Linked DNA regions of Homo sapiens: regions 1, 2, 3 and 4 are each linked to region 5. Evidence: promoter capture Hi-C in 16 types of primary human blood cells and fetal thymus (Javierre and others, 2016). All regions are on one chromosome and are shown on one strand. Each heading gives the region's core, a stretch centred on a gene start or on the middle of the fragment in contact. The rest is flanking DNA. Distances are from core to core; before and after follow the strand shown. Region 1 overlaps ADAMTSL3 (ADAMTS like 3). Region 2 overlaps ADAMTSL3 (ADAMTS like 3). Region 3 overlaps ADAMTSL3 (ADAMTS like 3). Region 4 overlaps ADAMTSL3 (ADAMTS like 3). Region 5 holds the start of ADAMTSL3 (ADAMTS like 3).

Region 1 (5,416 bases), core at 2,222-4,721, 350 kb before region 5:
GGCTCAGGTCATAGCCTGATAGGTCATCGTAAGGCTTTGGTTTCTATTCCAAAGATTTTGAAGAATGGCATGAGCTGACTTGTGTTTCTAAAGGACTGCTTTGACAGCTATGTTGATTGCAGGGGGCAAGGGCAGAGGCAGGGAGACCAGTGAGGAACCTGTCAAGATAATCCAGCCTAGAGATGACGGTGACTTGGACCAGTGTAGTGGCAATGAACGTGGTAAGAGACGGTCAGATTCTGGGCCTATTCTGAAGGTAGAGCAGACAAAATTTGATGGGGGTGGGGTAGTGTGAGAGAGGAAAGCGAGTAAAAACCGACTCCAGGATTTGTGGCTCAAGCAAATTAAATAACTGCCTTGTCATTCACTGAGATGAGGGACACTATGAGAGAAGTAAGTTTGGGAGCAGAACTCAGGAGAGCAGTTTTGGACATGTTAAGTTTGAAATAACTATTACATATCCACGGAGAGATGCTGAGCAGGCATGTGGACATGTTAATCTAGAGCTTAGGGGAAAGGTCTGTGCTGAAAATATAAATTTAACAGTTTCCAGCATACAGATGTCATATTTGAGTCCTTCTGCAGGTATGGGACCAATAGGGAGAGAGTATATATAGAGAAGAGAAAACGTCTGAGGACTGAGGCCTCGGGTAGTTCAACTTAGAGATCAGGGACAAGAGGTGGGACAAAGGAGGCTACACAGGAACAGATACTATGGTAGGTAGAAAACAAAGTGGTTTCCTCAAAGCAGAGAAGGAGGGCGTAGCAACTGTCCAATGCTAGTGTAGTCAAACGAGCAAGTAAGGTAAGGCCTAAGAACTCACCACGGGGCCTGGTGTGGTGGCTCACACCTGTAATCTCAGCATTGTGGGAGGCCGAGGTGGGCAGATCACCTGCGGTCAGGAGTTCGAGGCCAGCCTGGGCAACATGGTGAAACCCTGTCTCTACTAAAAATACAAAAAACATTTAGCCTGTAATCCCAGCTTCTCGGGAGGCTGAGGCAGGAGAATTGCTTGAACCCAGGAGGTAGAGGTTGCAGTGAGCCAAGATCACACCACTGCACTCCAGCCTGGGCAACAGAGTGAGAATCTGTCTCAAAAAACAAACAAACAAACCTGACAACTGAAGTTAGCAATTCACACTTACATGGTAAGCTGTTGGTGACCTTGACAATAGCTATGAAGGTAATGGTATGGAGAATGTTTGGTTGGAGTGGATTCAAGAGAGAATGAAGAGAAATGAAATTGAAGACAGCAAGTATAAACTACTCTTGAGGCACTTTGCTATAAATGGAAATCAAGAACTAAGGCAATAGCTGGAGAGGGAAGTGGAGTCCAGGGCAGGGAATTTAGGGATGGCTTTGCTCACCTGGAATACTTATCTCATCTCCCTATTTCCACCCTTGCCTTCCTTTTACTCTCTGATTTTTTACAGTCTATTTTCAACACAATAGCCATAGTATTTCTTCTAAAAGGTAGCTCAGATCATGACACTCCTTTGCTTAGAATCCTCTAATGGCTTCCATCTCACTTAGAACAAAAAATAAACTGCTTATGATGTTTTATGATCTGCTAACATACATGGTCTTCCCTCAACCCTTGCCCACCAACCACCTCAAAACACAGAAAAAAAACAGAGCCAGAGAGAGATGGATTTTTATTTTTTTAGTGATGGGGTCTCACTGGGCTGGAGTGCAGTGGCTATGCACAGGCATGATCATAGCATACGGAAGCTTCAAACTTCTGGGCTCCAGGGATCCTCCCATCTCAGCCTCCTGAATAGCTGGAACTATAGGTATGCATCATTGTGCCTGGCTAAGGGGTGGATTCTTGACTAAATCATTTAAGTTCCTGAATCCAGATGTATCTAAAATTATGTCCAGAGTGTCTACACTCCAGAACTTTTCGGTTTTATTAGCCAATAGTTCCTCCATTTTTTCTTAAGCCAGTTCGAGGTGGTTCTCTGTTCCACGTGACCATGGGAGTCTAGACTAAAAACTAAGGTATGAAAACAACCAAGATGGCCAAACAGCCATGCCAGCGCAAGCTTCTCAGAACAAACTGACAAAGTTACATTCCAAAAGAAAATGTCAGAAATAGGAAGTTTGAAATGAAGAGCACAGGACCACACCAGAGTACAGGACCAAGTCCTTCCTTCACACTACACACTGTCCCAGGGGCCATTTCATCTACTTTGGGAAATATAGTGATAATTCCTATGCTGAAAACTCCCACATCTACCTATCCAGTCTTAATCTCTCCCTTGAATTCAAGACTCCTGGACATCTCCCATTGGCACAACATGTCCCACAGGCACCTCAAACTCCGTAAGTCCCATAGTGAACTCCAACTCCCTCTCCTACCCCACAGGTCTGTTCAGCACCTAGAAGCATCGTTACACGTGTAAACATTTTCAAAGAACTGAACAGGCCAGAGGAAATTCAGACAGATTTCTTCGCACCACTGCTCTTTATGGTGTTTCAAAATAACACATTTGCTCTGTTGCAACAGCTATAAAACGTCAGAAATAGTTTAAACTTATTTATCTAACCTTAAAGACAGGCTATTTCCCCCAAGACTTGCAGCTCTGATATATTCAACATTCTGTTTCCACAATGCTGAAATTGTTTTGGAAGACAAATGTTGTGGAAAAAAGTTCAGAGCCGGAGGGGCTGTGAAACATGTGTTGCAAAAAGTTTGCACCTCGGGGGTGTCTTTAAACTAGTCAGTGTTTAAAAACAAATTTCCTTCATCCTTGAAAGGCCCATGAAATATTCCACACTATAAATCCCTGGCCTGTTCAGACTGCCCTGAAATGCTGGATCTTTAAATAAATATATATTATACCTATATTTTTTTCTCATGTTTGTTTCTTCCAGCTACTCAAAACTCACTCAGAATTCTGCATTACTTTTTCATATACGACAAATGAAGATTTAAGCTACCATCAGTTATCTCTGGGGAATCATGAAGAAATGATGTTGCCAATTTATAAAAGGCAAATCAAACACAGGATAGACAAAGGGAGTCATCACTAATAAATGAAAGAAAGAAATAAGAGTTCAAGGGTTCAGTGTCAGAGAAAGTATCTCAAAGCTACTAGAATAATGAATGCACTCTTCTTAACTGCAGGGCCAATCTGTGCAGCAGAGTAAATTTTGTAAGGAACGTTCCTCTTCTGAGTTAACTGCATACCCTTTTGTTCTTTTTGAAAAATACGTTATGTATGCTTTTTGGATACAATGGACTATCCATCATTGATGCCATATCCAGAACTGTCTCCAAATAGAGGGCTCTGGCTTTTACTATTTACAGAATTCTCTTGAATAGCTGTTTAAGTACTTTCTTTTCTCTAGTAAACTCATGTTTAGATTGACATAATCTGTTCCCCAATCAATTTGATTTCTGAGGATTTAGAAATCATCTGGGTCATAGTATCTATTCCCAACTCCATCATTAAAAGTCCTTCCCTAAAGGTTTTGAACTGTGTTTCTTCTGACATGGAGAAGAGTGTCAACAAGTCCTCTTCCTGGTGTGGTCATTCTCATCTCTCACGTACCCTGGGCTTCTGCTTTGCGCGAGCCTGGGCAGTTCTTTAACGCCACCAGACATATCTCATGAGCACCACACAGTTCACTGCTGGATATTGTCCTCCAGAGTCTTATTTATAGGCTAGAAAGTGCCAGTGAAAATTATTATATCAAAACCAAAAACCTTCAGTAGTTCCTTGAAGAAGAAAGTCAAGAGTTGGTGCAAATCAAGCATAGCGATACATGCTGGAGCTATGCAAGTGGTGTAAACTACTGATTCCAGTAAAGGGGATAGGAGGAACTCCTAAACAGCAGCTCAAAGGGAGAACCATGGACATTCCTGAGGCCCTTCCTGATAATCAGCAATTCTGGTAATCTATCAAGATAACATTGGGATATAGATGAACAAATAGCTATTAGCCAGTTAAAAATATTAGTTATTTGGAGATCATGCACCAAAATCTCCAAGTGGATTCCACTGCTATCACCAGCAAAACCCCAGAGGACTATGTGTGGGCTGCTGGTGTCTTGGGGTGACATCTCAAGGCCGTGTTGATTCCCCAGGACTCCATTTCCTCTTTCCTTAAACCACTAACTCTTGCCTTTGGTTCTTCTGAGCTGCACCTCTCACTCTATTTCTGGGGGGTCTTTTCTCCTCAGGAATGGTAGGGAGTAAGAGTCAGTTTTCTTAGCTCTATAGCCTTTCCTGTTCTTGGAGGAGAAAAGCACAAAAGCCTTTTCAATTTAGGGGAGTCACTGCTAAGAACAGCTATCCTCCAGCCCGGGAACTGCACTGTTCTCCAAACACACCACACTGGCTGTAAAGCTGTTCTATGTGCTGTTCTCGCCATTGCAGATCATTTGCTATTCCCTTTCACCACCTGGAACATTTCTCCTCATTCTTAAAGACGCATCTCAAAATCACTTCCTTGATCCTCTTGGACATTGACAGCTGATTTCTCCTGTGTGAACCTTTGAACACTGAGGCATCAATTGTTGGCATGCCTGATTCTACCTTCAGAATGAGCCCAGAGCATGGAGCTGGGTTCTACCATTTAGCCCCCGCTTTTAGTTCACTCCCAGTTACCCACTCCTGGTTCACTCCTAATTTGAGTTTACTCCTGTTTACTCACTCCTGGTTAATTCTAGTTTACTCCTGATTACTCACTCCTGGTTCACTCCTGGTTTACTCCTGGTTTACTCCTGGTTCTAGTTGACCTCTGGTTACCCACTAATTCCTGAGGAAGAGTCTCTCATTTTGAGAGGATATTTGAGATAATTTCCAGGGACCTCTTTGGCCCCATTTACTGGCTAAATCAGTGGTTCTTAACCTTGGCTGCACATTAGAATCTTCTGGCGAAGCTTTAAAAATCCTTGGTTCTCAGGACATACTGCCGATGAATTAAATCAGAATCTCTCAGGGCAGGGCTGGGGAGATGTTGTGGTGTCCAGGCCTGAACTGACATTAACCAAAATAATAAAATGACCTGACTGTAGTATGTGTCAGTCATCAAAATGAATAACTGGGTATTGAATTAATAACTAGGGGAAATAAATGAATGAAAAGAAAAAAAACAGGGTTATATAAGTTGGGATGTTACTAGAGAGGCCAAAATTCTACACAGGTCCTATGGGGCTCTTCCCATAAAGGAGTGTTTTTCTTCCATTAACAAGGTCCTGCATGGTTTTCTCAGACTGTACTCAGAAGCTTGCATGCTTTCTTATTTCCGGGGGTTGAATTCCAACAAAATTCCCTTTCCCTCAGTCCCCACCCTGTGTGGGTGCTGTGGGCCTCTCGGTCTTGCTGTGAAGGCATAGTTAGGTCATAGCAGCCGGAATGAACTAGTGGGTCATTCAGGGGCTTCTGACGGTTCCCTGTGTTTTATA
Region 2 (5,193 bases), core at 2,398-4,897, 380 kb before region 5:
TCCTATCATTAGCCAGTAGGAGGAGACTCTATCAAAGGGTTTACTTAACACAGTGCTGTCCTACCAAACTGTTCATACGATATATGGAAGAGGTGGGTGTCCTGTTAGCTGCTTTTGTTTTCCCCAGTAGGTATGAATCTTAGGGACCAAAAATTGAGTCACTTTGAACAACAGAGAAGAGACTGAGTACTCCTCAACCATCCCTATATAGAGATCAGCCTTCCACTGAAGAAACTTGAACAAATATTCAAATAATATATTTAAAAGAATACCAAATTATTGTGCACAAGTTTTGGGTGGTCTTGTCTTATTAATAAATCCCTCACCCTTTTTTGCATAAATCATGCCAAGTTGACTTTTGCTTCTAGCCCAAAGGATTGTAAAACAGCCCCTTTTGCTTTGATGAAAGGCAGGGCCAGTGGGAAGTCAGACAGGACTATTGAGCTTTCTAAATACAAAGAATGAGAGGGGCACAGGGAGCTATGGACCAACACAGAAGCTGAAGCCCAGGAAAGCTAAGAGGCTGCTCACTAAGGATACAGTAGAAAAAATCATAATAAATAAAAAGCAAGGTCTGTCCAGTAGAGGGCGTAACTTCCTCCTGGCCAGGGACAGGACTCAGGACAGAGACACCTGAGCCAGGTGAATGCAGTCTGGGCACCTGCACTATGCACATAACTGGGGTTCATGTGTTTTTCTACATGAAGCATGAGTGTAGAAATGGTAGCAGAAATCATAAAGGAACCCTGTTTCTACTAGCTTTTTTCAATTTCTCACTTCTATTCAGTCTGGCTCCACTTCTGCCTCAAGTAACTCCTTTCACCATCAGCCAGATGGAACTGCTGATTCTGACGGCAGTAGATCCCAAGCCTGCCTGGTTATTCGAAGCAGGCAGAAGCACACAGCTTTAAAATGCTGTAGATGGCCAGGCAATCTCATGAAGGTTCTGATTCACTGCCTGAGGTGAGGCCCAAGCATCTTTATTTTACAGAAATTTCCTAGGTGATTCTGATTTCAGAAGTTAGAAATCGCCACTTTGAGAAACCAACTTTCTGTGTCCTCAGCATTCTATAGGTCCCCATGTTGTCACCTTGCCATAAGTCTGGGCTAGCTCCACCCTGACAATTCCCATTCCCTCTACAACTTTTCAATGGAAGCCACAGCTCCCAAAACCTTCCCAGGGCATATAGTAAACACTAGCAGACAGCCTGCCCACCACTGATCCTCTGCCCACGCCACTAATGCTACTCCTTCTACAACACTCTCTAACATTTCCTGAGGCCCTACTATGGCAAATGGGGGGTCTCCATTGCTCCCTGTCCACCCACTCAAAAGTGAGATCTAACACCTCACCTACCTACAGAGAGCCCATGGTCATAAACCAATCCAGCAGAAGAGGTCTGTGGGGAAAAGGGGGCTAAAACACTGCAGAAGAAACCCTCGACAGCTCTCTATACTAACCAACTTCATCCCTCATCCATAAACCACCAGATATCTGAGGAAAAAATATTAACACCATGAAAGAAAAGCATCAGGTTATAAAAACAGAACAGCCAATCCTGGAGGAAACAGAAATAAAAGAGAAAATGAATGGTAACTTGACTCCCTGCCACTCTGACTCACCCCCAGCTCTAGGAATTTTCTTCCATTATTAAAAAAAAGTCTACCCTTTAATTTCACTTTCATATCTCTTGGTCTAAAACCCAATTTAATCAGATTTTGAGCCTCTTGATAGATCCTTCTATACTCTTTATCTTCCGTATTACATTTTCTGCCTCTTATTTTTTGCTACCTTTGATTGGAAAGTATGTGACATATCTGAGAAACTGACAGAAGGACAGTGTGGCTGGAACATGAAGAGTGAGACAGCATGAGATAATGGATGAGGCTGTGAAGAAAAGTAGGACTTGAGCACGTTTTTTTGTTTGTTTTTTGGTTTGTTTTTTTGAGATAGAGTCTTGCTCTGTTGCCCAGGCTGGAGTACAGTGGTGTGATCTTGGCTCACTGCAGCCTCCACCTCCCAGGTTCAAGCAATTCTCCTGCCTCAGCCTCCCAAATAGCTGGGATCACAGGCATGTGCAACCATGCCCAGCTAATTTTGTATTTTTAGTAGAGACAGGGTTTCACTATGTTGGCAGGCTGGTCTCAAACTCCTGACTTCAAGTGATCTGCCTGCCTCAGCCTCCCAAAGTACTAGGATTACAAGTGTGAGCCACCATGCCCAGCCAAGCATGTGGTATTTTATAGGTCACATTGAGGATTTGGTCAATCTTCCTAAGAGCAAGTAAAACCTCTAAAGTAATTTTAGTCTAGCAGGGAGATGGGTTGTGGTGGTGGTAGGATCAGATTTGCATCTGGGAAAACTCACTCTGGCTGTACTGTGGAGACTGGGTTGGAAAGGAGCATGGATGGATGAAGGGGGACCAGTTGGACAGCTGTGACAGTATACCAGGTGAGATACGATGGTGGTTTGGCCAAGGGTAATGGTGGCAGAAAAGAAAAAATGAAGATGAGTTCAAGAAAAAAAATATAAGGAATAAAAAATCATATAAAAAAGTAATCAGGAAAGTACACATTACAATGAGATAAATTTTCATCCATCAGATTGGCAAAAATTTTAAAAGACTGCAAACCTATATCATGTTGATGAAAAGGGGGCAACTCTCACATATTGCTGGCATAGAAATTTTGATGGCAATTTGATAGCATCAAAATGAGCATTCCTACCAATTCAATTCCATTATCTAAAAATCTACTCTATAAAAATATTACCCTTTGTACCCAAAGATATATGTTCCAGGATATTTACTGAAGCTTAGTTTATAATAGCAAAAAGTTTGAAACTATCCAATGTCCATTAGCAACAGAATATTAAGTACAAAATTTAGATAGAATATTGAGTAGAATAGAGTATTAAGTACAAAATTAAAAAGAATAAAGTTAATCTTTACTTGATGGGAATTATCTATAATATATTCTTAGGTAGAAAAAGCAAGTTTCAGAAAAATATGTATGTGACCCATGTATGTATTTGTGCTTTAAGTATATCTTTGTGAATGCAAAGTAAAGCACCTGGGATGATGCATATCAATCTGTGTGTGGTCTGTATCTTCTCAGGAAAATAGGAAACTTAGGTTGTCTGTTGAGAATGAGAGCAGCCGTTCCAAACATTTTCCATTTGAGGAGAATGGTTTTGGCTTGAAATCACTTTGTGGGGAATAGGAAATGCAACTGACCCTACATTGCCAAACCTTACTGAAGGCTCAAAATGGTAACCCAGCCAACTGTCAAGGTCATCTCATTTTCTCCAGCAAGACTCAGGACATGGAAAAGGAAGAAATAGCCAGATATTGAGCATCTTCCATGACCCAGGCTGCCTCGTGTTTCACACTAAGCTAAATCATTAAAACTTTCTAAACATAAGTTCACATGGATGATAATATCCCACTTTGCAGATTAGGTGGCTAGGCAGTCCAGGGTCACACAGTAAGTGAGTGATATAATAGAACTCCCAAGCCCCCGATTAGTGTGCCTTCTAGGCTCTCTCCCCACTTTCTGCTGGCTGGGGTGCTGTTCTCTTGGATGGTAGAGCTGCCAGATGGAGGGCATCTGGATCTCTGGATGACCCCATGAAAAAAGCTCTTCTATCCCTAAACCATCTACCAGCTCAGACTTTTATAAAAGGAGGAAAGCAAACTCCACCCTTATTTAACCTCCTCAACAAGATTAAAGTTTATTTTACTATCTGCCAACCACTGTGACAATATCCTAATCAAAACATTTTCTAAACAGAGAAATAAAGCAGTTCATTAAAAGCATTAAGAAGATTTAATCTGTAAGCCTAAATGGAATATTATTAGGCTTGATTAACTTAGTATATAGAGGGAGAAGTATCTCCGTTTTCTCAATGATATCCTTTTCCCCTTTTACCACATAGAGTGGTGTCCCTTTATTGTTTAACATCCAAACAATTTATAGTTATAAATAGTGCACATTAACTAGTATTTCAGTATAATATATACTATTGAAGATGACACTAAATAAATCATAATTGAAAACTGTCAATTATGAGAGTTGGTAGAAACTAGAAAGGATTCCATTTTCAGGCAGTTATAATCATTGTCCTGAGTGAGTCAGGAGAGAATGTGTGCTGCTCTGGGGTGGGGCCCCTACCTCTTTCTGTCATCACAGTTGGAGTCAGAGCTGTTGTGTTGACAAGCTGTGTGACGCTGCTGCATCCTCACAGCACGGCCCATGCAACGTCCAGGACACTGGAACAAAAAAGCACAGTGCAGTGTAAATCCTGCAAGCTCATCCATGCTGTGTGTACTAAGATCATGTACTGAGGCAGGATAGCTGAAGACCTATTACAAGGGGACTGTAACCAACTGTCCCCAGGGGGGAGTTAAAGAGGATTAGGGTACAGCTCTGTGGACCAGACACCTCTTTTTCAGAGTCAGGAAGAAACTGCCTAAGCTTACCATCCCCTCTGTATTAGTCCATTTTCACACTGCTCTAAAGACATACCCGAGACTGGGTAATTTACAAAGGAAAGAGGTTTAATTGACTCACAGTCAGCATGGCTGGGGAAGCCTCAGAAGACTTACAATCATGTCAGAAGGTGAAGGGGAAACAAGGCACCTTCTTCACAAGCGGCAAAGAGGAGAAGTGCCAAGTGAAGGGAGAAGAGCCCCCTTTATAAAACAATCAGATCTTGTGAGAACTCACTCACTATCATGAGAATAGCATGAGGGAAACTGTCGCCATGATCCAACTGCCTCCACCTGGTCTCTCCCTTGACATGTGGGGATTGTGGGGATTAAAATTCAAGATGAGATTTGGGTGAGGACAAAAAGCCTAACCATATCATTCTGCCCGTGGCCCCTCCCAAATCTCATGTCCCTTTCACATTTCAAAAGCATTCATGCCTTCCCAACAGTCCCCCAAAGTCTTAATTCATTCCAGCATTAACCCAAAAGTCCAAGTCCAAAGTCTCATCTGAAATAAGGCAAGTCTCTTCTGCCTATGAGCCTGTAACATGAAAAGTAAGTTAGTTACTTCCTAGATACAGTGGAGGTACAGGCAGTGGATAAATACACCCATTCCAAATGGGAGAAGTTGGCCAAAATAATGGGACTATAGGCCCCATACAAGGCCAAAATCCAATGGGGCAGTCAAATCTTAAAGTTCCGA
Region 3 (5,477 bases), core at 359-2,858, 300 kb before region 5:
TGATTTGTTTCTACAGTTTTCTTTTTGTTTCTCTTAGCTCATTTTGTAACACTGAGTATATTTTCATCTGTTTAAAGGCCAAATTTTCATTATGTTGGTATGCTATTGATACTTTTATCTTACTGTATCTTTTTGGAGGTTTGCAGATGTTCTTATTAAATGAATTAGATTGTTTTCTGTACTTTTAGGGAAAGAGAGTGTAAGCAGGAGGGAATATTTCAGGATAGTTATCTTCACTGTTAAGAGCTTCCTCCTCTGGTGTTAAAAGGAAGTATTATATGCAACAATTTGGCCACAATTCTGGGATTTGTATCTCTGGACTCCCCAACTCCCAAGGATCTGAACATCTCTTTCCTTTACCTCTTGTGTTCCTTCTCCACTTGGATTATAATTCTGACAACTTTTCTTGGGCACTTCTTAAGCCCTTTAGTGGTTCTGCACAATCTTTCTTGCATCCAATCACACTCTGGAACCAATCACACTCTGGAGTCCTTCCTCAATTTGGCTGATTGGTCTCAGACCTATTTGCTGAGGGTTCTACTCAGAGTAGGATCATTTTCTTGTCATGCTATTTATTCGTGACATCTGTGTTCCACAACTCTTGGCCCTGTCTCTCCTCTTTTTTATCGCTGCCCAGCTGCTAATTCTGCCATTTCTGAACAGTGTCTGCACTGTGTGGTTTGGCCTCACCTACTTATATTACTTTTGTTAAAATTACCTCTGTTGTTTTTCCTTTCCTTCTGCATTCCTAATTGCTCTGCTTTTTGTTTTTTAATGAGGGATTTGGGAATAGTAACTATGCTACTACCATGATTTTGCTTCACTAGAAGCCTTCAAATAATTTTTAAAGGGACTACTGTCAATAATATACTTTTAGATATCATGGTAGTCATCTTCCATGGTTTCAACTACCACATATGTGTTGATGATTCACGCAATTATAACTTTAATGTAGATCTTTTCTGAGCTGTAATTCTTTACTGATACCTTTATAGACTCTCAAACTACATGTATGTCTAAAATAAGCCATTTTTCTCTCCCTTTCAAGTCACTTTCTGAATATGCTTCTTCTTTCTAATTAATTTTAAAATTAATGTCGTCTCATTCATTAGCTTCCCAGGACAAAAATACAAAACACTCCTCTTTTTTGCTCATGTCCTGTCAATTCAATTGCCAAATATGTCAGTTAAATCTCCTACATATTGTTCAAAACCACTTACTACTCTCTATCCCAACTGCTTCTTCATTCTCTCTTGTTGATTTTATTCCAATCACCATCTAACAAGGTTTTTCAAGCTTCAATTCCTTCTTCCTCTAATACCTTATCCATAGTGCAGCCAGAATTATATGTCTAAAACCTTACATTTTACTTCCCCATTCAAACACCTTCCAACATGCTCTCAATGACTGTAGGGATAAATCCAATACCCTAAAGCCTTCACAATCCAGCTGTAATCTCTCCTTTCCATCTCACCTACCAGCACTTACTCAGTGCATCCTGTTCTCAAGCCACACAAGACTGATAAACTCTCCCAAATCTGTGCCTTTATATACACGCTTGTCACTCTAGAACACCCCTCTGTCTCATTTCCACACAGTTTGCACTCATCTCTTAAGACGCAACTCCAAAGCTGCATCTTATGCAACACTTTCCAGTGACCCAGGCAGACTTAAACGTTTCCCTTCAATTTTCACGTAGCTCTGTAGACAGAACACCTTTATTGGGCATTTTTTACATGGTTGTAAATGTCATTTCTTCTGCCTGCCTTTTTAAACAGTGAGCTCACTGAAAACTATTCTTAGTTGTCTCTGGTTCCTGGTGCCTAGGGTAATCAACATAGCAATGCTCAGTAAATGTTGATTAAATGAGTGAGTTTGTAAGGCTATGGAAATAGGCCTATTTAGAGTAGAAGAAGCTTTTATAAATCTTTATACTTCAGCCAAAAAGTGTTTACCAAGCACCAAGTGGGATACAAACATGTGCAGAAATGGGTCTTCCCCTCTGGCAGTTACTTTGGGTCAGGAAAATAAAGTGTATTCAGGTTATGTGTGTGTGTGTGTGTGTGTGCCTGTGCGGTGTGTGTGTGTAACTTAAAACACATGGAACAGATAGAACTACATGAATTTGAATCCACTGGGCATATTTTGGATGGGTCATAATATAAGAGTAAACTGTCAGATTCAGTCTAAAAAGACACTATTATTCCAGTAGAAGAGTGCTTAGCAAAAAGGGCAGAGCAAGATGGCAGAATAGAAGGCTACATTGATCATCCCCCTACTCCCACTACCACAGGAAAACTAAATTTAAACAATTATCTGTGAACAAAAAAGCACCTTCATAAGAACTAAAAATTGGGTGAGCCATCACAGTACTTGTTTTTAATTTCTTATCACTGAAAGAGGCACTGAAGAAGGCAGAAAAGATGGCCTTAAATCACCAACACCACCCCTTCCCCATTCCCTGGCAGTGGCTGCATGGCACGGAGAGAGAATCTGTGCACTTCAGGGAGGGAGAGCACAGCAACTGGGGGACTTTGCATTGAACTCAGTGCTGCCCTGTCACAGTGGGAAGTGAAACCATGTTGAACTCAGCTGATACCCACAGAGACAGCATTTGGACCAGCCCTAGCCAGAGGGGAAGTGCCTATTCCAGTGGCCGGAGCCTGAGTTTCAGCAGTCTCACCACCATGGGCTAAGGTGCTGTGGGGTCCTAAGTGAACTTGAAAGGCAGTCTAGGAAGGACTCAGATTCTTAGGCAAGTCTGATGGTGTTCTGGGGTTAGAGCCAGTGGACTGGGGCAGTGTGTGACCTAGTGACACACCAGATGGGGCAGCTGGGGAAGTACCTGCACTACCCCTCCCTCAACCCCAAGCAGCACAGCTTGTAGCAATGAAAGCAACTCCTTCCTTCTGCTTGAGGAGAGGAGAGAGACCAGTCAAGAGGACTTTGTACTTTGTCTTGCATCTTGGATACAAGCTCAGCCACAGACAGTGCACTGGGCAGAGTCGTGAAGCCCCCATGCCAGGTCCTAGCTCCTGGGTGACATTTCTAGACACACCCTGGGCCAGAAGGGAACCCACTGCCTTGAAGAGAAAGACCAAGTCCTGGCAGCATTAATTATCTGCTAACTAAAGAGCCCTTGGGCCCTGAATAACCAAAAGTGATATCCAGGTAGTATGCCATGGGCCTTGGATGAGACTTTGAGATATGCTGGCTTCGGGTAACAGCTCAGCACAGTGGATAGAGTATCTAGTGGGCTTCAGGGGTCCCTGAGTTCAGGCCTAGGCTTTCGGACAGCATTTCTGCACCTTCCCTGGGCCAGAGGTGGGAGCCTACTACCCTGAAGGGTGAATCCCAGGTTTGGCAGCATTCACAAGCTGGCTGAAGAGCCCCTAGGCATTAAGTGATCAGCAATGGTAGCCTGGCAGAACTCTCTACGGACTGCTGATGATGATGGCCATGGGGAGAGCTCCTCTGCCTGTGGAAAGGGGAGGGAAGAGGGGGAAGGATTTTGTTGTATGGTTTCAGTGGCAGCTTAGCCACAGGGTAATAGAATACCAGGTAGATTTCTAAGGTTTTTGACTTAAATCCCTGGCTCTCAGAAAGTATCTCTGGACATGCCCAGGGCCTGAAAGAACTTGCCTCCCTGAAGGGAAGAACATAAGCCTGAAGGGAAGGACATAAGCCTGGATGGCTTCAACTCTTGCTGACTGTAGCCCTAGGGCCTTGAGTGAACATAGGCAGTAACCAGATAGTGGCTGCAGTGGGTCTTGGGTGAAACCCAGTGCTATTCTGGCTTCAGGTCTGACCCAGGGCAGTTCCAGTGTTGGTGGCCATAGGGGTGCTTGCATCACCCCAATCCCAGCTCCAGGTGGCTCAGCAGAGAGAGAGAGAGAGACAGAGACAGAGGCAGAGAGATGCTGTTTGTTTGGGAGAAAGTAAAGGAAGAGAACAAGAGTCTCTTCCTGGTAATCCAGAGAATGCTTCTGGATCTTATCCAAGACCACCAAAGTGATATCTCTATGAGTGTGCATGAAGCACAGTGTTACTGGGCTTGGGGCCCAAGTCCCTTTGAATACTTGGAAAGGCTTCCCAAGAAGGACAGGCATAGACTGTAAAGCCCAGATTGTGAAGACTACAATAAATACATAATTATTCAATGCCCAGACACCAAAGGACATCTACAGGAAAACATGACTTCACCAAATGAACTACATCAGGCACCAGGGACCAATCCTGGAGTGACAGAGATACATGACAGAGAATTCAAAATAGCCATTTTGAGGAAACTCAAACAAATTCAAGACAATATAGAAAAGGAATTCAGAATTCTATCAGATAAATTTAACAAAGAGATTAATTTTTAAAATCAAGCAGAAATTCTAGATTTAAAAAATACAATTGACATACTGAAGAATGTATCAGAGTCTCTTGGCAGCAGAACTGATCAACCAGAAGAAAGAACTGGTGAGCCTGAAAACAGGGTATTTTAAAATACAGTTAGAGGAGACAAAAGAAAAAAGAATAAAAAATAATGAAGCATGCCTACAAGATTTAGAAAATAACCCTGAAGGGGCAAATCTAAGAGTTATTAGTCTTAAAGGGGAGGTAGAGAAAGCGATAGGGGTAGAAAAATTATTCAAAGGGATATCAGAGAACTTCCCAAACCTAGAGAAAGATATTAACATTCAAGTGCAAGAAGGTTATATAATACCAAGCATACTTAGTGCAAAGAGGACTACCTCAAGGAATTTAATAGTCAAACTCCCAAAGGTCAAGGGTAAATACCATAAAAGCAAAAAGAGAAAAGAAACAAATAACACACAATGGGGTTCTAATAAGTCTGGAAACAGACTTTTCAGTGGAAACCTTAAAGGCCAGGAGAGAGTGGCATGACATATTTAAAGTGCTGAAGGAACAAAACTTTTACCCTAGAATAGTATATCCAGTGAAAATATCCTTCAAGCATTAAGGAGAAATAAAGGTCTTCCCAGACAAACAAAAGCTGAGGGATTTTATTAACACCAGACCTGTCCTATAAGAAATGCTAAAGGGAGCTCTTCAGTCTGAAATAAAAGGATATTAATAAGCAAGAAGAAATCACCTGAAGGTACAAAACTCACTGGTAATAGTAAGTACACAGAAAATCATGGAATATTATAACACTGTGATTGTGGTGTCAAAACTAATCTTAAGTAGAAAGTCTAAATGATGAACCAATCAAAAAATAATAAATACAACAACTTTCAAGCCAGGATAGCACAATAAAACATAAAGAGAAACAAAAAGTTAATAAGTGAGAGGACAAAGTAAAAGTATAGAGTTTTCATTAGTTTTCTTTTTGTGTGTTTGTTTACACAATGTGTTAAGTTGTCATCAGTTTAATATAATGGGATATAAGATAGTATGTGCAAGCCTCATGGTAATCTCAAATCAAAAACCATACGATGGATACAGAAAAAATAAAAAGCAAGAAA
Region 4 (5,390 bases), core at 1,357-3,856, 330 kb before region 5:
CTGTGTTTTGAACATCTCAAAACACTATGATTCTTATTTTTGGATTGTATGACATTTAAAAATTGCATGATAATAGAAAACTACTTCAGATACCCAAGCTTTTGACAAGGCTACGTATTTGTGTGATACTCAAATACCACTGGTGGGTATTCAAGAGATACGGCCCTTGGTTCTGATTGGCCATGAAGTAGTCATGGGATTCTGCTTCTCAATTACCTCATCAGAAAGGTTAACCCCTGCCCTGCCAATCTCATGGGGCTGATGTGAGCTCAAATAAGATACCACATCTCCTAGACATGGAAGAGCTCTGTAAATTCTGATTTGCAGTTCCAACATAATGTAGGATTACTATTAATAAGCTTACTTTTAAAATGGCCTTATATTGATTTTATTTTTAAATGCCAAGTGCTGAGTAAAGGGGGAGTGTATATATGCTTAAACTTATTCTTGCTGGATCCAGTCATATCACACCTCTACGACAGTGATTGGGATGATATGGCGGTTGAATTTAAAAATTCCAACGTATATGTGAAAAACACATCTTAACATTTTTTAGTTTCTTTCCTAAAGAATCCTGTTGGAAACACATGCTTAGGAGAGGAATTTGAAAATATTTTCAAGAAAACTGGAATAGCCATTAAGAAGGTAGTGCAAAAATGAATACTGCATTTTTATTTTACTTACTTTACTGAGGGCTGTAACAAGGTTCCATCCTTGGTCCATGTATATGTGGCCTCACTGGGGGTAATAAGGTCACACAGTATATTGATGACCTCTGTCCTTTTTGTAATGTATACTGTATTTCCAATCCTGGAATTTATTGTTTTATTAAATGAAATTGAGGGAGGTTGGCTTTGCCTCATGAGAACAGGTCCTTTCGGCTTGAATGTCAGCTTGCCTGAGTTTTTTGCATGCGAGCTTTGGGACACACTCCCTGTTTCCCCTCTGAGCTGAGCAGCAGGAGGTGTCTCTTCCTGGATGCCCCGCCACTGCATGTGTGTTGGCTGTGCCTTGGCTAATTCGGCCACCAGCTGATATATCAGCTGGGACGCAAGATCATCGCTGACCTCTCCGGTTTCCATGAGCTGACTCATGTTTCTTATCAGCTCATCAAACTGGGCTGTATCCATGCTATATGCTCCTTGTTTAACTGCTGCTTCAAACTGCTTATTCTTCAACTCCCAGGAGTTGGTGCTTCCTGCAGAATTGCTGCAGTGGCCTAACAGAGCTCTCAAGAAAGGCTGGTTACTAATGTGGTCATCATCCAGATAAAGGTCATTTTTGTTATTCCACATTTGCCTCATTTTGTGCCATGTGACTCCCAAACTATTGGCTTCGCTGTGGTCCATCCCAGGATATTCCCTCATAGGCTCCCTGAGGGCTGGGCGTGCGATGAGCCGGTTGTCAGTACCAATGAGCTTGAGCACAACTGTTTCCTGTGCAGAGCCTGCAATGCACCGGTACACGCCGATGTCGGGGGCAGCAAGACCATGGATTTTTAGTGAGCCTGACTTGGTGATGCCAAGCCGTTTGGAGTTCTGCAGGCAACGGCCATCCTTCTCCCACTGGATCAGAGATTTCTGGAATCGTCGCACGGGGCACTTAATAATCACGGATGTGTTGGGCAGCAAATAGGCTCTGCTACCAATGGTCAGGTTAATACGCTTCTCTTCCCTTGTCTGAATGTAGACTCTCTGGACACTGAGGATCTGCGGACCCTGCTCACCAAGTTTTGTCTTCATCTCTGATTTGATTTCTCCAAGAAAAAAAAAAAGAAAGAAAAGAAAATACGAATAAACATCTCAAAAATACAGACTTTTTGACAGTAATCTTTCAAGGCTGATACAGGCTAACAAACGTATCTTTTTTACTATTTTAAAACATTCAAGAATAAAACCATGAATAACATTATACATCCACAGATTGGGGTAAATTTCACAACTATCTAGTACTTTAGTGGCAAAGAATGCAAGTGTGAATGAGGTGCATGAAAATGTGTAAGTGATTTGATAAAACCCTGGTTTGGGGAGGCATGAGGTTAAATGATTTGGTGAAATGTAGGGAATAGTTATTTCTAGATTTGAGGAATATTTGTTCTAGGCCATGCTCATATAATGGCTCCATAAATACCCAGCCTCTGGGTACATGTTTCCATCAATAAGGGTCTGATATGTCAGGTCTCTACTATCTGGCAGAGAGGCCCTCTGGCTTAGAGCCATGGGTACCCCAAATCTGAGGGAGGAAGTGAGAGTGGGAATGTGAGCAAATGTATTTGAAGGGTCTGAAAGGAGGCTGAGGTTGGCCAGCTGCAGAATATAACCCAAATATGTCGATTAAATTGGCATGGGGGTCTGAAGAAGCAATGGGTAGCCGTGATCAAAAAAGAACAGGTGGCATAGGCAGTTTGAAGTCAGATAAACCTGAGTTTGAATCTTAGCTCTGCCACTTGGACAAATTCTTTCATCTCTCTGAGCCTCAGTTTCCTCACCTGTGAAATGTGAATAATGTTAGTGCTTTCAATGGGAGGGAAGTAAAAATTAAGTCAGATTGTTTATATCAAGTGCACAGCACAGTAGCGGGCACATAATGAGCTCTCATATATAACTGCTGCCACCACTGATCTGGTGACAAGGGCAGGTGCAGCCAATGCACAGCAGGGAAGACTAAGAGGGAACAGAGATGGGGTTGGCTTTGACTTGTTCCTGGGCATCGATCGGCTCCTCTTAATGGGCTAGGCCCAAAGACAATACTTCTCAGATCCTGTCCCCAAGAGAAGTATTTCTCTCCCTTGTTTCACCTGAGAGAAGGCTCAATGTGTTCTGGGGTGATTCTGAGGTAGGCATGGGAGAAGGACAGTGATATGGGTGGAAGTCTGGATCCTCTTTGATGATGTATTTAGGTTCCTGAGCAGATTGTGGAGTGTAGGATGGATGGCTTGGAAGCACTAGTGAGTGGCAGAAGAGATACTGGACTAACATCAAGAATACCTCTGGATTTAGAAGGTCATGCAATGGGGACCTAATTTACCTTGGGGGACCCCAGTTACAGGTCCTCCTTGTTGTAGCACACGCTGGGAGAAGAAGCAGATTGAGACTTCTCTTTCATAGCCTTCTCAGGCCCTTGGCGCTGGCTACAGTGTGTTTACTGGTACCCTGAGAACTGAGAATAACTGAAGTCCTCTTGCACGCCTCATGAGCCCTTTGAAGTCTGGCTGCCTACTGGGGTTTCGTGGTGTCAACAGGTTCAGGGAAACAATGGAGGTGAACCCATAATTTCTGTGGTAGAGAATGTTCTCAGTGAAGGACATACATAATTTGTTTGTATACAAATTCCATACAGATGCAATTGGTAGGTCAGGCCTATTGATCTCAGGATGGGTCCAGGGTTCTGCTTGAAAATGCTCTGTCACATCATCTCTAAGTGGAGCTGGATGAACTGCCACATACATACTTTTACTTTTTGGGAGACAGAGTATCTACAAAGTATGTCAAATGGCCCAGCCAGTTAAGCCATGTAAATTTCCCCTAATTTGGCTAGAATACAATTTTGAACTTTCTACTGTTCAACAATCAAAAGCTGAAAAACATGTATGGAAGACTCCCTGGTAAATTTATAGTCAATCCATTACTATAGATAATATAGATGGTGTTCAAAATACTAAATCTTCACAGCAAGGGCTCAATCAACAGAATGTGTCTGGCCATAGCACTGGAATAGGGTCTTGGAGGCCTACTATGGTACGAAGTGTTAACCCCATAGTTGTTCGATTATGGACAAGTCAGGCGGTTACTGGCAGAGTGGCCTGAGCAGGTGAGAAATGCTCATGGGGTTCCAGCAGAGGCTGTTTACTAATTCTTTTTTTTCTGACCATATTTCTGACCATGTCCATACTGGTATGTGCAGGTTCAATATCAACTCTGACCACAGATGCTCTAAAAAAAATGGCTCTCAAATTTTGCTATTTGTTAGAATCACCTGTTATTGTTAGTATTCACTAATCTCAGTATCCTGGGTCCCATCCCCAGAAATTCTGACTTACGGGGTGCAGCCAGGACATCAGAATTTTTTAAAGTTCCCCAGTTGACTGAAATGTGCAGCAAAGTTCGAGGACCATTACCCCAGCATGTACCATGAATTAAGCCAAAGCACTAGAGAAAGGCATTCCTGACCCAGTTTCTTTCACTGAAAGACAATTTGACAGGAAGCTGCTGGTCAAGAGGGAAGGGAAAATAGGAAGCAGCATCTGTGTTGTCTATGAGCACATTCTAGTCTTCACAATATCCAGTGTCTTCTGCAAGAGGATCATGGGAGGATTTCTTTCTGGTTTTAGCATCAGAAATCATTATACTTTACTCTGAGTAATTAGCTCATTTCCTATCTAATGAATTCCTAAACTGCAATTGGCAAGGTTGCCTTTTTCAAGATGGCTGTTAAAGCAAGTTTGGAGCCAAATTAGTGCCTACATGTAAAAGGAATATAAAATTCAAGACACAATCACATATTAACGTTGTTTGTTCTCCTTTTTTTATTACTCACCTGCTTCTATTTTTACTAATTGGATTGCATGTTATGAATACTTAGAAGTAGCCTATTGTAACAAGGCAAGGTATGCCTACCCGTGTAAGTATCATTTTTATTTAAAAAGATCCAGGTGGACACTGTCTGGCTATGGGCCTTTCAGTGGTGGACAATATAAAAGATGGATGTGCACATGGATGGTTTTGTAACTCACTTCTTTGCAAGCAGAGCATAAACTGTGTTCAGTCAAACTTTTGAATTAATACAACTAAGGAATATGTGGAGATCGATTGTTTCAAGGTAGCAGTGGCTGCTACAGATCGGGTGGAAGCTTGAATGTTCTTGCTCTCACTGGGATGGTGCGGAAGCACACATGGGGAAACGTCTGGCTAAACAGCTCAAGCTGGGGATGACCTGATTCTAACATGAAACCCACAAAGCATCCTGGTGCCCTGGGACCAGCAGGAAAGTGGGTTCCAGTGATGCTCATTTCCACTGGTACCACATGTCCCTCAGCTGAGCTTGGGGCTTAAAGTTGATGGGATTCTGACTCCTTCTAAGGGAGGCCATGAAGCCTCAGGTGGTGGGCAGGGCATAGCCTTGGTGAAGAGCCTGCCCAAATGGTGGGGTGAACACAGAAGAAGCCCAGCTGCTCCCTGTGGCTGCATGCCCATTTACTGGAAGGCAGGCCTTGTGGCCCCAGATGGTCCCTTTCCCAACTCTGCTTTGGCCATTGCTCACACTGGGGTATGGGGCATTTTGACTGGCAGGTGTGCCTGGGGAGTAAACGGGGATTCCAGCCAGAGATCGGAATTCATGGGCTCTGCCAGGCTGCCAGGTTCCACAGTTTGAGCCACTTCCTTTCTTGGGGC
Region 5 (5,428 bases), core at 1,886-4,385:
TTTAAATTTTATAAGGTGAAAGAAGGCAAAATGAACACTGTGCCTTGAAGCCTCAGCCCCATTTGACCAGGAACAAATCTCTGAAGCTCTCAAAGCCTGTTTCAGATCCGCTGATGAGACAGAAACGTAAGTCTCCACGCTTTTACCTCAACAGTCATCTCGCTGGCCAGAGAACCCTAACATCATCCTGAAAAGACTTAACTTTTGTTCTAACAAAAGAGCTCTATTAATATGATTATGGGATAGTATCGATAAAATGGGATAGTGGGGAGAAGATGTACCTTGCTGACCAGTTCTTTGTGCATCACAGAATTCACAGGGCATTGGAGCCAAAAGAGGCTTTAGAGGCACTAAGTCCAAGAAAGTGAAACAAGAGGCAGAGGAGTCTGATTAATTTATCCCAGGGTATATATCTTCATTCATGGATGCATGTTTATTTAACAGACATTTAAGCCCTTAAGTGACAAGTCCCTTCCGAGACCCTGAGGGTACACAGGCCACCAAGCCATGTATTTGAGAAGCTATGTCTGCAGGGAGGGATTGCCTTGTTCTAATTCATAAGACACTGTATGGAGCTAGCAGCAGCCCTTGGGACACAATACTAAGATGTGCCCTGCCTTTAGATCTGGGGCTGCAAACTGCTTGGCTGAATCCAGGCTGCAAACACATTTATCTGCCTTTCAATACTTTAAAAACTGGGAAATTTTGTAAGAAGTCTAGATGATCCAGCTATCTTGAAAAATAAGATCTGGCAATCCTGGGCTTATGTCTCCACTTAGCAACGATCAGATGGAATTGAGTAGAGACTGCTCTTAATAGATGGAGCACGCGTTCTGCACTTTGCCACTGTCTCCGTTACTCTCTATTGTCTCTTAGGCAATGCTAGCCTCATTCCTTTGTTTGAGTCTGTCCTTTAGGCAAATAAAGATGCAATTCATGAGCCGGGTCCTCTCAAGTTGGTTGGAAAAGACAGCAGAAGTCTAAAGAGAGGACTGTGGGATAAAACAGTGGGATATGTGATGATAGATGTAAACTCAGAATATTTATTTAGCAGCTTAGCTAGGGCCAGAACCTGGCTCTGCCCATTGTTTCCTGGTCTCCAGCAACCCAGCCTCTGCTGGGCACATGCAGACAGCCATTCTAGTCTGAAATGACAGGGTCCATCACAGCCCCAGGTCATCACCGGTGTATGGTATCCACAGTGCTATTAAAGCCCTACTCAGGATTCAGAGAGGACCCAAGGGATCTGGATAATCCTTACAGCTAAGCCAACCAGAAATACCATTGGCTAGAGATAGGAAAGAAAGTCTGGTTCTCTGGTGTAGGATTAACACTAATCATGCCACATCTTAGGTGGTATACAATAATGCCTCTGAGTAAACAGAGGGATGTCCACCATTTCCCTTCCCCTCCCTATATGACCTTACCTGCGGGAGGGGAGAGTGCATGAAGACCATCCCTATCAGCACCCACCAGGGGCTCGTCCAGGAAGCCATGGGGTCTAGTCTCCTCCGGGTCTCAGTTGTAGCCTACAAACGAGGAAAGAGTTCATTACCAACCAGCTCTGGCCCCCATGGCAGTAAACCGTGACTTAAGCGACCCATTAGATGGAGGGACCCTGAAGCCCATATACTATTTTGGAAAGGTTTGTGTTGGCCCAGGTTGCCGCTGCCTACTGCAGGGTGCAGGCTAACTGGGCTCCCTTTAGAAGGTCCACAACAAAGTCAGGCGAGGGCTGGACCTGTCTCCAGTGGGCATCTCATACCTCCAGCTCTTCAGAAGCTGAGATATCCCTGCCCAAGCCTATCTGTCAGCAGCAGGGTGTCGCTATTGGCATTTGACTCAGGAAGCCAGCACAGAGCCAAGGTTTAGGCTAGCTTCTGCTGCTCGCGGCAAAAATGAGTCTAAGACAACAAAGCCGCCCAGAGAGGGAAAGGACCTGCCTAAGGTCACACAGCAAGATAGTGACATTTTAGGGCTGAAACGCAGATCTTCTGATAGTTCAAGGCTTTCCTCGCTAGATGACACCGTGCGCCCTCGAGGTCCGGGACCCACACCCAGAGAGACGCCTGAGAGCTAAGTTCAGGGAGGTTTGGAGGACACAGCCCCTGAGCCAGCCTAACACAATCTCCTAAAAGTAGGTGAGGGCCAGCCAGCAGAGGTCAGCTGAAACCAGGAGGGAAGCGGGGACTTTTTCCCTTACTTTTCCTGTCAATTTACAGGGAAATCAGTATGAGTCGAGACTGGAAAAGCCGAGGTCACACTCGACTCCCGCTTCGCCTCGCGGGCGCCTTGGCGGAGCTGGTGTCCGGGGGCGGGTCGGTGGCTTCTCTCCATCTGGAGAAGGCATTAAGGGCCTGGTCTAATGTGATCCGCAAATGTGCTGCTGTTTCCGACCTGAGGCGGCGACTCCTGGCTGAAGGGAGGCGGCCAGTGCGGGGCCCTGGGACTCTGCGCCACCCTCGCCTGCTCGCACCAGCCTTCCGAGTGCACACTCCTCCGACTACCCGCTGCCTCGAAGTCGCTCCTCCAGTGCCTCCGCCGCGTCCCGGTCACCCCCACGCCCACTTTCCACGATCGCGCGTCGCCTCAACCCCCGGCGTTCTGGGCGCTCGCTACCCAGTGGTCAACCGGCCGGACCTTCGGACCCGCGAGGTTTCTGCTTAGTAACTCCCAATCCTGAAAAACTCCAACCCTGTGGAGTTCCCCCATAATCAAGAACGCCCCTCAGCCCGCGAACTGCCGCCGAAAGACTCTCCCTGAACCTTCCGGGACGGCACGAAGCGCGCCCGACCCGAGGTGCCCAGCAGTGAGGAGCACCCCAGTCCTGAGGCCCCCTGGGGCCCGCGTGGCACGCCCCGACTCTGCTTGGAGACCCCCAACTTGCTTAGAGAGGCCACTGCTCCAAGTCTTACTCCCTCTGGGGAGCGCCTTCCCCCGACCCCTGAGGGGCCGCCCTGCGCCGAGCTCGGTGCACCCACCTTGCGCCGCAGAAGTATCTGGGACGTGCAGCCCCGGGGCCGCGCGGGCTCGGCGCGCGCTGGGGAGAAGTTGGCAGAAGCCGCCCGTCAACACCTCGTGCGGAATCCGGCACCAGGACCTTCCCCGACGCCGGCCTCCAGCCCGCGGCGCCGCAGTCGCCGCCGCCGCCGCGAAGTTAAATGGGGCTGGGACGGGGGCTGCCCCGCCTCTCCCGCCCCCTCCGGGCGCGCAGAGCGCTGCGCTGGCCCCGGCCCAGAGGCGGAGGGCGCGCGCCGCCACCTGCACCGCCCGGCAAGTGCACGGCGCGCCCAGGCGCCCGTCAGCCTGCGCGCCGGCACCGCGCCCTCGGCTTGAGCTGGAGGCGCCGGGGGCGCGAAGAGACGCCGTGTGGGGCCAGGCCCGGGCCGCTCGGAGCGCGCGGGGCCGCGGCGACGGCGGGACTCGGCTGGAACGCTCCTCCGCCCGCTTCCTGGAAGCCACTCCTCGCCCTGGGCCGGCCGCCAGGCGTTGTGCCAAGAGCCGGGATTGCCGACGCCGCCACCGCCGCCGCCGGCAGGCGCACTGGGGAAAGGCGGCCGCTGCGCCGCAAGCCAGCCTGGCCGCCCCGCCTCAGCCGGAGCCGGAGCAGGGATGCCGTCGCTCCCCCCGAGCCCACCCCCGGCCCCACCTCCCATAGCCTCCACCCACCCCGCCCAGACCCGGGCGCCAGCTCTGCAAAGTCAGGCCCAGCAGCCACACAGAGGTTTGCCCGGAACCGCTGGCTCGTGCCTAAGAGCCATAGGCACTCCTGGCCAGGCAGGACCATAGTGGAGACCAATGGCCCTCTCCTGGCCTGCGCCTCCTCCGCGCAGCATAGACGCCACACAAGGGACTGTGGAGCGCTCACTGCCCAGAGGCCTGGGACCTTTGGCAGCCAGGGACCACGAGGATCTTGCAGGAGCGCCTCTTAACTGGGTACCTGGCGCCTCCTTGTCTGAGCCGGGCTTGGGGAACTGAGAGCTCCACAGGTGCCAGAATCATGCCGTGTCCAGGCCTGGGATTTGGGGTTGGGGGGAAGAGTGTCGCGGACAAGAGACTGGGGTGAGTTGCCTGTGTACTTCTGGAGGTGAGGAGAAGTAAAAGGAAATGTTTGTCCCTGTCCTTGTCCTAGTCCCAGCAGGATAAGCCAAGGGCCAGGAGATTGATCTTAAAGGCTGCATTATGCCCCCACCTAAGTCCTACCACAGTCGCCATTTCCTTGGGTGTCTGTCGAGTACCAAGCTCTTTGTGTCTATCTGATCTTCACAGCAGCAGTAGTTCGAGCATTATCCCATTTCACCTAGGATAAATCTGAGGCTGGGAGGATAACTTGCCCACCATGAGTGGAGAAGCCAGGACTGGAACCCCTATCTGCCTCTCTCTAGAGCCTGGACTGTTCACCCCTAAAGTTGTTCTCCTGCCTTCTCTGTGGTTGCTGCGTTCCGGTTACTGCTAGAGCTTTGCCAAGAGCAATTGGCCCTGCCTGCTTTCCTCACTCATTCTTCCCTTACTTACTCTGGTGACTTCCTCTGACCAAGAAGAGGATCTTCAAGGCTGTCTCTCCACTCTATGTAAAATGATTGGACTTGTGGCAAGTGAGCAGAGGACAGGTCAGTGTGGAGACAGGAGAGGTAAGAGTAGCCAGTGAAGGGTAGGGAGGGCTGGGCTAAACTAGAACTAACTCATCTATGGACAATCGATCCTTTTTATTTACTGTAGTTGTGGTCTATAAAGTCACAGAACAACGAATTTGTGAATATGGAGCCATTGTTCCTAGGGGAAATATAGAGTTGGGTTCCTGCAAGCTCACAATATTTTTGTCAATCAATCAACACATTGCCTTATTTTATGCATGTTTCTGTTTAAAGACGCCTTACTTAACATCTATTGTTGATTCCTGAACACTGAGCTCACAGCCTACAGTGCTGTAACTCATGCCTGAATGAAGCTTATCTAACTTACGTATTTTCTCTGCAACACACATCCCAGCCTTCTTCCACTTAGGAACGCTAGACTTCACTTCAGCACTGTGCCTGGGGGGTGCTTTAAGCAGCAAAATCATCAAAAAAAAGACCAAAAAAATGTGAAAACATGGCAATGAAGAGAACTTTTGGGCCACTCATTTACAGTGTGAAAGCTGAAACAAGAAGACAGAGGGTTGACTGGTTGGACCTTAGCTTCCAACATGTGTCTCAAGAGACTCAAAACGTTCAGCACTGGTTCAATGACTTTGAAAGTGCTGCAGCTATTGATTATGAGGTGTTAAAATAAAAACTTTAGACAAATTTAACAGAGGTTAATTGAGCAAAGAACAATTTGAAAATAGGGCAGCCCCCCTCAGCCCCAAAACAAAATAGATTCAGAGCAACTCTGGGGCTTCCACATAGTCAGATAATATTTATGGATAGAAAACGGAATATGATGAACA

Evidence for each region. The method cuts DNA at HindIII sites, captures the fragments that hold promoters and counts their contacts. A CHiCAGO score of 5 or more calls a contact.
Region 1: a contact is called between a fragment that was not itself captured here and the fragment with the promoter of ADAMTSL3 in region 5, in 1 of 17 cell types (M0 macrophages). The highest score is 5.4, in M0 macrophages.
Region 2: a contact is called between a fragment that was not itself captured here and the fragment with the promoter of ADAMTSL3 in region 5, in 3 of 17 cell types (M1 macrophages, M0 macrophages and endothelial precursors). The highest score is 8.4, in M1 macrophages.
Region 3: a fragment that was not itself captured here is called in contact with the fragment with the promoter of ADAMTSL3 in region 5 in 1 of 17 cell types (M1 macrophages); the score reaches 5.4 in M1 macrophages.
Region 4: a contact is called between a fragment that was not itself captured here and the fragment with the promoter of ADAMTSL3 in region 5, in 1 of 17 cell types (M1 macrophages). The highest score is 6.6, in M1 macrophages.

What each region holds. Positions count from the first base shown.
Region 1 is chr15:84,003,808-84,009,223 of GRCh38, reverse strand. The region is part of intron 23 of ADAMTSL3 (ADAMTS like 3); the gene reads right to left. Among named protein-coding and RNA genes, the nearest start is that of GOLGA6L4, 230 kb to the left of the region's middle. The HindIII fragment of the contact is 2,845 bases long and covers 2,049-4,893 here.
Region 2 is chr15:84,030,413-84,035,605 of GRCh38, reverse strand. ADAMTSL3 (ADAMTS like 3) reads right to left here. Exons shown (of 30, transcript NM_207517.3): 28 at 4,174-4,271. Among named protein-coding and RNA genes, the nearest start is that of GOLGA6L4, 200 kb to the left of the region's middle. The HindIII fragment of the contact is 1,662 bases long and covers 2,817-4,478 here.
Region 3 is chr15:83,953,271-83,958,747 of GRCh38, reverse strand. All of the region lies in intron 19 of ADAMTSL3 (ADAMTS like 3), which reads right to left. It overlaps LOC105370935 (a long non-coding RNA gene), which reads left to right. Exons shown (of 3, transcript XR_007064744.1): 1 at 1-5,477. Among named protein-coding and RNA genes, the nearest start is that of GOLGA6L4, 280 kb to the left of the region's middle. The HindIII fragment of the contact is 620 bases long and covers 1,299-1,918 here.
Region 4 is chr15:83,978,639-83,984,028 of GRCh38, reverse strand. ADAMTSL3 (ADAMTS like 3) reads right to left here. Exons shown (of 30, transcript NM_207517.3): 21 at 685-1,756. Among named protein-coding and RNA genes, the nearest start is that of GOLGA6L4, 250 kb to the left of the region's middle. RefSeq lists a silencer at 117-306. The HindIII fragment of the contact is 4,490 bases long and covers 362-4,851 here.
Region 5 is chr15:83,651,830-83,657,257 of GRCh38, reverse strand. It overlaps ADAMTSL3 (ADAMTS like 3), which reads right to left and starts at 3,135. Exons shown (of 30, transcript NM_207517.3): 1 at 2,982-3,135; 2 at 1,428-1,529. The coding sequence starts at 1,496. RefSeq lists an enhancer at 4,497-4,666. The HindIII fragment of the contact is 5,383 bases long and covers 1-4,950 here.